3 separate regions of the Homo sapiens genome follow, and all the other regions are linked to region 3. The links are contacts of gene promoters, found by promoter capture Hi-C in blood cells and fetal thymus (Javierre and others, 2016). All regions are on one chromosome and are shown on one strand. The core of a region is centred on a gene start or on the middle of the fragment in contact, and the rest is flanking DNA. Distances in the headings are between cores, read along the strand shown. Region 1 overlaps ZNF268 (zinc finger protein 268). Region 2 overlaps ZNF605 (zinc finger protein 605). Region 3 holds the start of ZNF140 (zinc finger protein 140).

What was found. The method cuts DNA at HindIII sites, captures the fragments that hold promoters and counts their contacts. A CHiCAGO score of 5 or more calls a contact.
Region 1: a fragment that was not itself captured here is called in contact with the fragment with the promoter of ZNF140 in region 3 in 2 of 17 cell types (naive CD8 T cells and M0 macrophages); the score reaches 6.7 in naive CD8 T cells.
Region 2: a fragment that was not itself captured here is called in contact with the fragment with the promoter of ZNF140 in region 3 in 14 of 17 cell types (erythroblasts, total B cells, fetal thymus and 11 more); the score reaches 13.6 in erythroblasts.

Annotation. Positions count from the first base shown.
Region 1 is chr12:133,211,795-133,216,176 of GRCh38, forward strand. It overlaps ZNF268 (zinc finger protein 268), which reads left to right. Exons shown (of 6, transcript NM_003415.3): 6 at 1-3,038. Among named protein-coding and RNA genes, the nearest start is that of ANHX, 22 kb to the right of the region's middle. The HindIII fragment of the contact is 4,424 bases long and covers 36-4,382 here.
Region 2 is chr12:132,923,821-132,927,859 of GRCh38, forward strand. ZNF605 (zinc finger protein 605) reads right to left here. Exons shown (of 5, transcript NM_183238.4): 5 at 1-3,342. The coding sequence ends at 1,553. Among named protein-coding and RNA genes, the nearest start is that of ZNF605, 30 kb to the right of the region's middle. The HindIII fragment of the contact is 160 bases long and covers 1,278-1,437 here.
Region 3 is chr12:133,078,709-133,082,830 of GRCh38, forward strand. ZNF140 (zinc finger protein 140) reads left to right here and starts at 2,215. Exons shown (of 5, transcript NM_003440.4): 1 at 2,215-2,364; 2 at 2,565-2,621. The coding sequence starts at 2,613. RefSeq lists enhancers at 1,244-1,933, 2,004-2,203. The HindIII fragment of the contact is 18,343 bases long and covers 1-4,122 here.

The sequences.
Region 1 (4,382 bases), core at 998-3,497, 130 kb after region 3:
GGAAGATAGTTTGACTTTTCCCCAAAGCTAAACAAAGCTTCACAATATGAGCCAACAATCACACTCCTAGGTATTTAGATAACTGCTTTGAAAACATAGGAGTTTGATCTAAACAAAACCCAGCATGTACTCACGTACAGCAGCTCTTTTCATAACAGACAAATACTTTAAGGAATCAGGATAACCTTCAATAGGTGAATGACTAACTAGGCTGGGGTACATCCATGCAATGGAGTCCTGTTCAGCAAGAGCAAGCTCTGAGGCCATGCAGGACATGGATGAATCTGATAGGCATATTGCTAAGTGAAAGAGACCAGTGTGAAAAGGCTGTATGATCCTATTTCTATGATGTTATGGAAAAGCAGAAACTACAGGGGTAGCAAACATATCTGTGATTGATGACGGTTTGTAGAGGGCAGGGAGTGAGTTAAATAGGAGGATATAATGATAGAAACAGGCACAAATGGGCCTTTGGAGAGTGTACTCCCTCTGCTTGGTGAAATTATGCTGGGTGTGTGTGGAAGAGCCTGGGATGTATAATGCCAGCATGAACAAAAAGGCCACTTATCACTCCAGGAGAGCAGGGTGTTCTTTCATCACACATGAAATTATTTCAGGATCAGTTCCAAGGGAGACTTTCATGTGTGATTTTATATATATATATATATATATATATATATATATATATATATATATATATATATGTATATATACACACACACATACACACATATATACACATATATATACACATATACACATATATATACACATATATATAATAAGAACATTTACCATTTTAACTATTTTTAAGTGTACACTTCAGTGGCATGAAGTACATTATTTCCATTATTGTGCAACTATCATTTTACATTCCACCAGCAGTGCACAAGGCTTCCAATTTCTCCACATACTTGCCAATATTAATTAGTTTGTTTCTCTCTCATTTCATAGGCATGATCATAACTCACTGCAGCCCCAACCTCCTGGGCTCAAGGGATCCTTCCACCTCAGCCTCCTGGGTAGCTGGAACTACAGGTGCCACTACACCCAAATAGTTTTTTGGTTTTTTTGAAATGGAGTTTCACTCTGTCACCCAGGCTGGAGTGCAGTGGCACCATTTCAGCTCACTGCAACCTCCGCCTCCTAGGTTTAAGTGATTCTCCTTCCTCGGCCTCCTGAGTAGCTGGGATTACAGGCATGTGCCACCATGTATGGCTATTTTTTGTATTTTTAGTAGAGACAGGGTTTCACCATGTTGGCCAGGCCAGGCTAGTCTCAAACTCCTGTCCTCAAGTGATCCACTTACCTTGGCCTCCCAAAGTGCTGGGATTACAGGCTTGAACCACTGCACTTGGCCTCCATATTTTTTATAATAGCCACTCTAACATGTATGAAATGGTATCTCATTGTGGTTTTGATTTTCCTTTACCTAATGGCTAGTGATGTTGAAAATCTTTTCATGTACTTCTTGGCACTGGATTTGGCAATGATTTATTGGATATGACACCAGAAGCATGGGAAACAAAAGAAAAAATAGGTAAATTGGACTTCACCAAAATTGAAAACTTTCGGCATCAGTGGACACTATCAAGAAAGTGAAAAGGAGCTGGGTGTGGTGGCTCACGCCTGTAATTCCAGCACTTTGGGAGGCCAAGGTGGGAGGATCACTTGAGGTCAGGAGTGCGAGACCAGCCTGGTTAACTTGGTGAAACCACGTCTCTACTAAAAATAAAAAAAAAGAGAAAAAAAAAAGCCGGGTGTGGTGGCATGTGCCTGTAATCCCAGCAACTCAGGAAGCTGAGGCAGGAGGATCGCTTGAAGCTGTGAGGTGGAGGTTGCAGTGAGCCGAGATCATGCTACTGCACTCCAGCCCAGGTGACAGAGCAAGAAAGCAAAATTCCATCTCAAAAAAAAAAAAAAGGCCGGGTGTGGTGGCTCACGCCTGTAATCCTAGCACTTTGGGAGGCTGAGGCAGGTGGATCACGAGGTCAGGAGATCGAAACCATCCTGGCTAATGTGGTGAAACCCTGTCTCTACAAAAAAATACAAAAAATTAGCCAGGCTGGTAGTGGAAGCCTGTAGTCCCAGCTACTTGGGAGGCTGAGGAAGGAGAATGGCGTGAACCTGGAACCAGTGAGCCCAGATCTCACCACTGCACTCCAGCCTGGGCGACAGAGCGAGACTCCGTCTCAAAAAAAAAAAAGGTGAATATAGGAGAAAAGACACTGTAAAATAATATACCTGATAAGGGTCTAGTATCCAGAACATATAAAGAACTCTTACAACCCAACAACAAAAAGACAACCCAATATCAAAATGGGCAGAGGACTTGAAGAGACTTTTCTGTAAAGAAGATATGCAAATAGCATATGAAACGATACTCAACATCACTAGCCATCATGGAAATATAAATCAAAAATACAATGAGATAACACTCCATACCCATCAGAATGTCTTATTATTTTAAAAACAAACCAGAAACAAGTATTGACAAAGAAGTGGAGAAATGTGAACACCGCTGTAAAATGGTAAAGCTGCTATGACTGACCCTTGCTACAACGTGGAGGAACCTCAGAAACATTGTGCTGAGAACCCAGCACAAGGCCACACACCTGTAATCCCAGCTACTCGGGAGGCTGAGGTGGGAGGGTCGCTTGAGCCTGGGAGTTCAAGTCCAGTCTGGGCAGCATAGCAAGACTCCATGTCTACAAAGATAAAAATAAAAGCAATGTGCAGAAAGAGGCTGGCCACAAAAAGGTCACATACTGTATGATACCACTTATATGAAATACCCAGAATGGGTAAATCCAAAGAGAGCATATTGGTGGTTGTCAAGGGTCGGAGGGAGGATGAAATGTGTGACAGCTGCTTAATGGATGGAGGATTTCCTTTGGGGTGATGAAACTATTTTGGAACTAAGAGGTGGTGGCTGCACAATGTTGTGCATGGACTAAATGTCACAGAAATGTACATTTTTAAAAGTTAATTTTATATTGTGTAAATTTTACCTCAATAAAAAAATCTAGTCCACAGCATTCCCTCACCAGGGTCAGCCCTCTTAGCCTCACATTTAAGTCCCTCCATAGCCCAGTGCTGCCTGGGCCTGGCCAACCACATTCCAGACATGTGCTCCAGCCACACCATCTGCCAGCTCCTAAACCCATGGCTGTTTCATCATTCCAGGTCCAGGTCACCTTCTGATGCCTTCACAGACACTAAGTGATCAGCAGTGCCTCCTTAGGGCACACAGGGTCTTTTGAAACTTGCATTGCTGGAATTCATAGCTCGGCACGTGGTATCCAAGGGTTGTCCCATTTCAATAAGGAGAAATCAGTGTTTTCTGACCATCACCATGCAGCTATCTTGCTCAGGTGACTCACAGCTATCTGCTAGGTATGGCTAGTTCCTTGTGCAGAGGGGAGGGCCAGGCTCAGGTGATTGAATGATTCACCTGCAATCACACAGCCTCCAAGTGAGGTTCACACTCAGGTTCCAGCCCAGAACCTCGTTTCCAGGTGCCACTCAAAGTTTGTGAGTCACATGAACCTGTGTCCAGGCCACACAGCAGAGGTAACCCAGCTGTGGGGGCACTTGTCTGGTCATGAGATGGCCCAAGTCCCACGTGAAGCCTCATGAGCCACACAGACCCTATCATAAATACACCAGCCTGGGGCTCCCCAGAGGCCAGCTCCAGGAAGTGGAATCATGCTAGTATTGTAATATTTAGTTAGAACTGAGGCCACCTGCAACTCGCTGCCATCTACACCGCTTCCACTCTCTGGTTGCTAACGATCAATGCTAGGGCCTGCCTCAACCCTGATGATTCAGCTCCACTGAAGCTCCCCAGAAACCTCCGGGGCTCTGCAGGCAAGCAGAGTGGGAGGGATGTTATCTGAGTCAGAAGGGGCTTTTGCCTTTGGAGGCCTGGGACTGTACGACTTTCTGCCCAGGTCACAGGAGGTATGGGAGCCCCCATGAGAGGTCCCTTGCTGTGGTTCACCGTCCAGAGAAGGACCAGCCTCTGGTTTTTCCTGCCTTCAAAACACCAGCACCTCAACCCCAGAACAGTCTGGATCCAGCCCTTACTGGGCAAGGGATCCCAATGCCAGCCCCAAACCCAGCAGTTAGGCCCTCCTGTGAACTGCCTGGAGCACCAGGTACAAGGATGGGGCACCCTGGGAGGGGCCATGATTACTTGGCACCAGCAGGGATATGGTGATCACCAGCAGAGACAGAGACACTGCTGGGGTTGAATTATATCCCCCAAATTCATATGTTCAAGTACTGACCCCCAGTAGCTGTGAATGCGGCCTTATATGGAAATAGGGTCTTTGCAGATGATAAATGTGAGATGAAGTAATTAAAGCCAGCCTTAATCC
Region 2 (4,039 bases), core at 108-2,607, 160 kb before region 3:
ACATATATTACACTACTGTAATGGTTTTCCTATTCTCTTCCTCTTCTCTAAGTCTTTTTTTCTCTCTGTATATCACTTTGGTAGTTTTTATTCTTACTCTTCAAGTTCATTGATTTTTTCTTCTTTTTCTGTATCTAATCTCTCCACTCGGGATTTTAACAAAATCAGAAGTTGATTTCATCCCTAGAAGTTCCATTTTGGCCAGTAAAAATATCTCTTATACCTCAGGTTTCATCAATCTTATGTTTTCCTCTACTTTATATTTACAATAGCTCTTTTAATATCCTTGTCTACTAATTCCATCACCTCTGTCTTTTCTGGGTTTCTACTGATTTTTCTCCTGGTTATAAGTCATATTTTATTGCTTCTTTGCATAACACATTAGTTTTTTTGGATGCCGGACACTGTAGGTCCAGAGTAGCTTTTAATCTAGAGTTAATTAGCTGCACTACTAAAACAAAACCTTTCTGAGAATTCTACCTGATGCTCCATGTGTTTCCACTCTGTTTCCACTCTGGCTGCTGAGAACATAAACTATTCCCAGCCCTGCATGAGTTCCAGGAATTGTTCAGCCTGCTGCTTTCCAGTGCTTCTTTTCCTGGCCTCAGTGCAAGTCAGTACTAAGTCAAAGGACTCAGGGGACTCCCAGCAGACTTCTTGAGCCCTGTATCTAGAAGGATCCCATCTCTCCAGTACTTTCCCCTGGAAATTCTAGCTGCTGTGGCCTCCCCAACTGCCAGTCCTGTCTCTTCAATTCAGCGAGATTTATTGTTTCCCTTCCCTGAACTGCAACCTAGGAACTGCCATGCGGGGGCAGGCTGAGAAACCATGGTGCTCACCTCACTCTGTCTGCAGTCTCCTGAGGATCACAAACCTGTGCTTGTCCTATGTCTAAAAACCATTACCTATTATACGTATTGTATAGCTTCCAGTTGTTTAAGGCAGGAGAGGAAATCTGACCCTTGTTATTCCATCACAGCAGTAAGGAGAACTCTTCACATCTAAGTAAACACACCTCACACTTACAATTCACTGCTTTTTGTAATAATTGATGTATAAAGAACACCACTTCCTTACAGAACTATTTCAATAGCATCATGCTTGTCAAATTCTTTACATTATTGAGACTACTCTTCAGTATGAACCTCTGTAGGTATTATTCTCAAGTGTACAGTGAGTTGTCCTTTCTTGAAATCTTCCACTTTGTTATAAAAAACAATAGAATTTTCTTCCTGTTTAGGTATTCTAAACATTTAATAAACTGACTTTTGACTAAAAGCTTCTCTACTATCACAACACTAATAAGGTTTTCACCTCAATGAGTCATCCAATATGTAACGAGTAGTGTCTTCTGGGAGATGACTTTTTTTACACTGTTTGCTTTTTAAAAACTTCTCTTTCTAAATTCTGCTTAGTGACTCTTGACTCCTCAATTCAAGCTTTTTCAACAGTCACTGCCTCAATAGGGTTTCTCTCCCACATGCATCCTCAAAAGTGTCAGAAAGTATGACACTTGATAGCAACCTTTCTGCATTCGCCAAAGTCATGATTTTTATATTATATGATTTCTCTGATGTATCATAAGCTGCGACTTCCTGTTGAAGGTGGTCCCACACTCATTGCATCCATAGTATTTATCTCCTGTATGAATCCTCTGATGCCTCATAAGGTGTGACTTTCTTGTGAAAGATTTCCCACATTCACCACATTTATATGGTCTCTCTCCTGTATGAATTCTCTGATGTATAATCAGCTGTGCCTTCTCAAAGAAAGCTTTTGCACAATCGCTGCATCCATAGGTTTTCTCTCCTGTGTGATTTCTTTGATGCTTAATGAGCTGCACTTTCTGAACAAATGCTTTCCCACATTCACTGCATTCATAGGGTTTCTCCCCTGTATGAATTCTCTGATGCCTAAGAAGCTGTGGCTTCCAGGCAAAAGCTTTCCTACATTCACTACATTCAAAGGGCTTTTCTCCAGTATGGGTTCTCTGATGATGAATGAGACTTGACTTCTCACTGAAGGTTTTCCTGCATTCACTGCATTCATAGGGTTTCTCACCTGTATGTGTTCTCTGATGTGATATCAGGCTTGACTTCTGGGTGAAGGCCTTCCCACACTCACTGCATTCATAAGGCTTCTCCCCAGTGTGTGTTCTGTGATGCGTTAGGAGCTGGGACTTCCCAAAGAAGGTTTTCCCACATTGAATGCATCCATATGGTTTCTCTCCTAAGTGAATTTTTTGATGTCTTATTAACTCTGACTTCTTAAAGAAGGCCTCCTCACAATCACTGCATCGATAGTTCTTCTCTCCTGTGTGAGTTATCTGATGTTTAATCAGCTGTGGTTTTCTGATGAAGGCTTCACCACATTCGTTGCATTCGTAGGGCTTCTCTCCTGTATGAATCCTCTGATGCCTAATGAGAAGTGAGTTCCTGCTGAAGGCTTTTTGACACTCACCACATCCGTAAGGTTTCTTCCCTGTGTGGGTCCTCTGATGAGTAATCAGCTGCGACTTCCAAAAGAAGGCTTTTCCACAGTGACTACATGGATAGGGTTTCTCTCCTGTGTGCGCTCTCTGATGTGTGATGAGTTTTAATTTCTGGGAGAATGCTTTCCCACACTCACTGCAACTGTAGGGTTTCTCTATTGTGTGCGTTATCTGATGTCTTTTAAGCTGCGACTTCCTACTGAAGGCTTTTCCACATTCACTGCATCCATACGGCTTCTCTCCAGTATGAATTCTCTGATGTAAAATGAGGAGTGACTTCCTACTAAAAGCTTTCTGACATTCGCTGCACCCATGCGGTTTTTCTCCTGAGTGAGTTCTTTGATGAACCGTGAGCAGTGACTTCTGTGAAAAGGCTTTTCCACACTCACTGCATTGATAGGGCTTCTCTCCTGTATGAGTTCTCTGGTGTATAACAAGTTGTGACTTCTTGTTAAAAAATCTGCCACATTCCATGCATAAATAGACTCCTGTGTGTGTTATGTGATTAGCAGTGAGCCATGGCTCTTCGTTGCTGGATTTTCTACATGTACTGCAATCACAGTATTTTATCCCACCATGGGTTCTGCCAGGTTTGATACAGAACAATAATTTCTTATTGAGTTCATCAATTTTCTTTCTTTCACAATTATTTTTTGGAATAAGCAAATCAAAAGGACATTTCAAACTTTTTTCTCCTGTGCCACATTTATGGGATCGCAGTCCTACATGAACAATGTTTATGCTTGAATTAAATATTTTTCCAAAAACATCATATTTATGGCCTCTCTCCATACTTTTAAGGTTGTCTTGATTATCTCGGAGCCACATTTTGGGATTATCTAGCCAGACTTCTAAAAAGAGAAAAAAATGAACCATACTGTGTAATTCCTTCAATTATTATGCTTATTGCATAAAGCTTCTGAAATGGCGCCATAATCCCAGTTTTTAAAATTCCCTCAAATAATGTGTACTTATTGGGCATTGACAATTTTAACAGAAATGAAAATGAACTTTTAAATTACAAATGTTTAAATACATGAACTTTTATTTTTACTGTTTATATATATTTTTTTGAGATGGAGTCTCGTGCTGTCACCAGGCTGGAGTGCAGTGGCATGATCTTGGCTCAGTGCAACCTCTGCCTCCCAGGTTCAAGCAATTCTCCTGCCTCAGCCTCCTGAGTAGCTGGGATTACAGGCATGTGCCACCACACCCGGCTACTTTTTGTATTTTTAATAGAGACGGGGTTTCACCGTGTTAGCCAGGATGGTCTCGATCTCTTGACCTCGTGATCCACCCGCCTCAGCCTCCCAAAGTGCTGGGATTACAGGTGTGAGCCACTGCGCCCAGCCTTATTTTTTTTTTAGAGGGAGTCTCACTCTGTCACCACGCTGGAGTGCAGTGGTGCGATCTCAGCTCACCACAACCTCCACCTCCCGGGTTCAAGCGATTCTCCTGCCTCAGCCTCCTGAGTAGCTGAGACTACAGGTGTGCGCCATCACACTTGGCTAATTTTTGTATTTTTAGTAGAGATGGGGTTTCACCACG
Region 3 (4,122 bases), core at 965-3,464:
CGCCTCCCAGGTTCAAGCAATTCTCCTGTCTCAGCCTCCGGAGTAGCTGGGATTATAGGCGTGCACCACCACGCCCAGCTAGTTTTTGTATTTTTAGTAGAGATGGGGTTTCACCATGTTTGTCAGGCTGGTCTCAAACTTCTGACCTTGTGATTCGCTGGCCACAGTCTCCCAAAGTGCTGGGATTACATGCGTGAGCCACCACGCCCGGCCTGTATTTTTTTTTTATTTTTATTTTTTGAGATGGAGCCTCACTCTGTCGCCCAGGCTGGAGTGCAGTAGCGCCAACTTGGCTCACTGCAAGCTCCACCTCCCAGGTTCAAGTGATTCTCCTGCCTCAGCTTCCCAAGTAGCTGGGAATACAGGCACCCACCACCATGCCCAGGTAATTTTTGTATTTTTAGTAGAGACGAGGTTACACTCTGGCCTGTTGGCCAGGCTGATTGCAAACTCCTGACCTCAGGTGATCTGCCCGCCTTAGCCTCCCAAAGTGCTGGGATTACAGGCATGAGCCACAGCACCCGGCAACTCCATCTTAAATAAGAACTGGGTAAAATAAGGCTGAGGCATACTGGGCTGCGTTCCAAGACCGTTAGGCATTCTAACTCACAGTATGAGACAGCAGGTCAGCATGAGACACAGGTCATAAAGACCTTGCTGATAAAAGTTTACAGTAAAGAAGCCGGCTAAAACCCACCAAAACCAAGATGGCAATGAGAGTGACTTCTGGCTGTCCTCATTGCTACGTCTTCCACTGTCAGAGGCGGTTGAACCAGGGCAACTCTATCTTGAGTAGGGGCTGGTTAAAATAAGGCTGAGACCTGCTGGGCAGCATTCCCTGGAGGTTAAGGCATTCGTAGTCACAGGATGAGACATGAGGCTGGCACAAGATACAGGTCATAAAGACCTTGCTGATAAAACAGGTTGCAGTAAAGAAGCCGACTAAAACCGAGATAGCGATGAGAACGACCTGATTGTCCTCACTGCCCACCAGTGGCTATGGCAACGTCAGGAAGTTACCCTATATGGTCTAAAAAGAGGATGCATGAATAATCCACCCCTTGTTTAGCATATCATCAAGAAATAACCACAAAAATGCGCAACCAGCAGCCCTCGGGGCTGCCCTGCCTATGGATTAGCCATTCTTTATTCCTTTACTTTCCTAATAAACTTGCTTTCACCTTATGGATTCGCCTCAAATTCTTTCTTGTGCAAGATCCAAGAACCCTCTCTTAGAGTCTGAGATCCGGACCCCTTTCCAGTAGCAAAAGGTCTTAGACTGAAGTACTGACTCCACAGTCGTTGTTAAGAATCCTAGTTGTTTAATAGAGGCGGTCTTGGGCTCTTGCTGGGCCGCGGTGTGTTCTGGGAAGTGTAGTCACCTGAGTCTCCAGTTCCTTGTCTCTGGGCCGTGTGTGCACGCCAGCGAAGCACTGTGGGAGTCGTAGTAGGGGAGGAAAACCCTATACCCTCTGGCGTGCGGCGCAGGAGTTTGGGGGAATGTAGTCGCCAGAGCTCTGCGTTGTCTTCCGGCTTTGGGCGTGGCCACGATGCACTCTGGGAGTCGTAGTAGGGGAAGAACGTCCTCCGCTCTTTTGCGCACGGTCGCTAGAGGTTCTGGGAAGTGTAGTTGCCTGAAGCTCGTGTTCTTTGTCTTTCGATGATGTGCGCTTGGCCTCAAAGCACCCTGGGAGTTGCAGTGGGGCGGGGAAAGCCATATGCTCTCTCGCGCGGGGTCGCGGTTGTTTCTGGGAAGTGTGGTGGCCTGAGTTCCACGTTCTTCGTTTCTCCGCTAGTTGTGCGCTTGGCCGCGAGACACTCTGGCAGTTATAGGAACACAAAGGTCTGTGTACTCTTCCGCGGGGGGCCGCGGTTATTTCTGGGAAATGTAGTTGCCTAGGACCCGGGTTCTTTGTTTCTCGGCTCTGGGCGTGGGAGGATAGCCCCTATGCTCTGGCGCACCGGGCCGCGATGGCTCTGGGAATTGTAGTTGTCGCAGGCCCTCGTTCTTTGTCTCCTGGCGTTCTGGGCACGGCAGCGAGGCGCTCTGGGAGTTCCAGTAGGAACGAAAAGCCCTTGCGCGCAGGGCCGCATTGGTTTCTGGGAATTGTAGTTTCTTGAGGCCGGCGGCCTGGTTGGGGTGACGTCGGCGAGGCTTCTGAAGACGCAATTCCTGCGACGCCCGCGGAGGGGCCCTGGGGGGCGGCGCCGAGCGTCTGGCCTGTGTTGGCTGTAGGCAACGAAAGGAGCCCTCCCGGTCTGCGCCGGATGGCCCCGGGCGGTGACTCGGTCCGGAGCCCTGGAACGCTACGCCCACCTGGCGGAAAGCACCACGGAAACGCATCCTTCTGTGGCCACTGTTAGGTGAGGGGGTTCTGGGGAGGCGCGCCGTGGCAGGAAGAGAAAGCCGGCGCCAGTGGTCCAAGCGCGATCTCTCAGGGCGCCCTGCTCTCTACGTGGGAGGCGCGGAGCGGGGGCCACGGGAATCCCCAGTGCGGGAATCTAGTGACTTGGGCGCGGCCTAGCTGGCCTGTTCGCTCAGGGCTCCTTTCTCTCTCTGCCAGGTCTGCCATTTTACACTTTTCTGATCTCCTCCTTCCCTTCTGTGAGCTATGTCTCAGGTAAGCTAATGATTGATAAATATATATATATATATATATATAAATTTTTATTTTTTTTTTAAGAGAGAGACAGGGTCTCCTCCTGTCGCCCAGGCAGTGGAGCGATCATAGCATCCTGTAACCTCAAACTCTTGGCCTCAAGTGAGCCAACCCACTTGGCCTGTTTCCGCTTTTCTTTGTGAAGTGCAGCCGTGTTTTTCAGGACTTGGGACGTGGCTTTCTTTCTCCTACAACCACCTGCCTGGCAGAACCCCAGGACCCTGTCCCTTGTTCCTCCTTTTCAGGTGCTTATACTTAAGTATACATGAAGAGAGTGACAGGAAGCTATCCAGATGTGGGCGGGGTTTCTGACCTGGCTGGCATGTTTTAGGGTGAGAGGGTAGGGTGCCAGCTGTTACATCGCCTCCTCTTTCCCACAGTGTTAGAATGAGGAGTGCTTTACGTTACTCCAGCGCCCCTTTATTCATTTATTCAATATGTTTTTACTGAACCTCTACTTTCAGTGGTTCCCACAGTGTGATCCTTGGACCAGCAGTATCAGCATCATCTGAGAACGTATTAGAAATGAATATTCTTGAGTCCTACCCCAGACCTTCTGAATCAGAAACTGAGAATTTGGCCCAGCAGTCTAACAGTCCTTCCAAGTGATTCTAATGTGCAACTCATTCTAAGTCTTGAGGATGCAGAAGTGACCAAAACAAAATCTCCGAATCCTCAGAGCTCATTTTTCAGACATGACATAAGGAACACATTTTTATTTTGATTTGGCCTAAGGGCTTGGCTGGTAATTGTGCTTCACAGCAGTGGGGATAACAGGGTCAACTATTCAAAATGAGTCCCTCATTTCAGTTCCACTTCTTTATCCTACTTTTTGTCATACTTCTCTCCAAATTCAGAGGTTCTCTGAGTTTTGCTGGGGAATCCAATTTCCACCTCTGCTGCAGATCTTGCTGTGTAGGAAACAGCTGCTTTATTAGTCAACAGTCTTTAATCACTTTTTTATTAAACTTCAAAACTGTAAATTATAACTGCCATCCATCTGGGACTGCTACTAGTTTGAGACATTTTAAATTCCCATTCATGCCTTATAGATCAATGTGGATCACTCAAGTGGTGCAAAACCAGGCTGCAAAGCAAGGGCTTATATATTATTCCCCCTAACTCTGAGGGAAAGTGCTTTAGGTTCTGTCCTGGGAGGTATTACATTCTCTTCTTGCGGAATCAAGATTCTTTATTGCTTATCCTCCTTGTTCTGTGACATTGCTAAAATTACCACTAAGTTTCACAGGTATTTCTTTAGGATTAGGGATAACTGTGACAAACTTGAGACTGTATGCCCCATTTGAAGGGTGGTGCTGTTATCTGCTGTAGCGAATTATTACCCTGAAGAAATTCTGGCTGAATTATATTAAAATAGGCTGGTATTAAGGAAAATATACATTGTTTATTAACATAAAGGAATACTGTAAAATCTTAAGAATTTTTACAACCAATGCCAAAA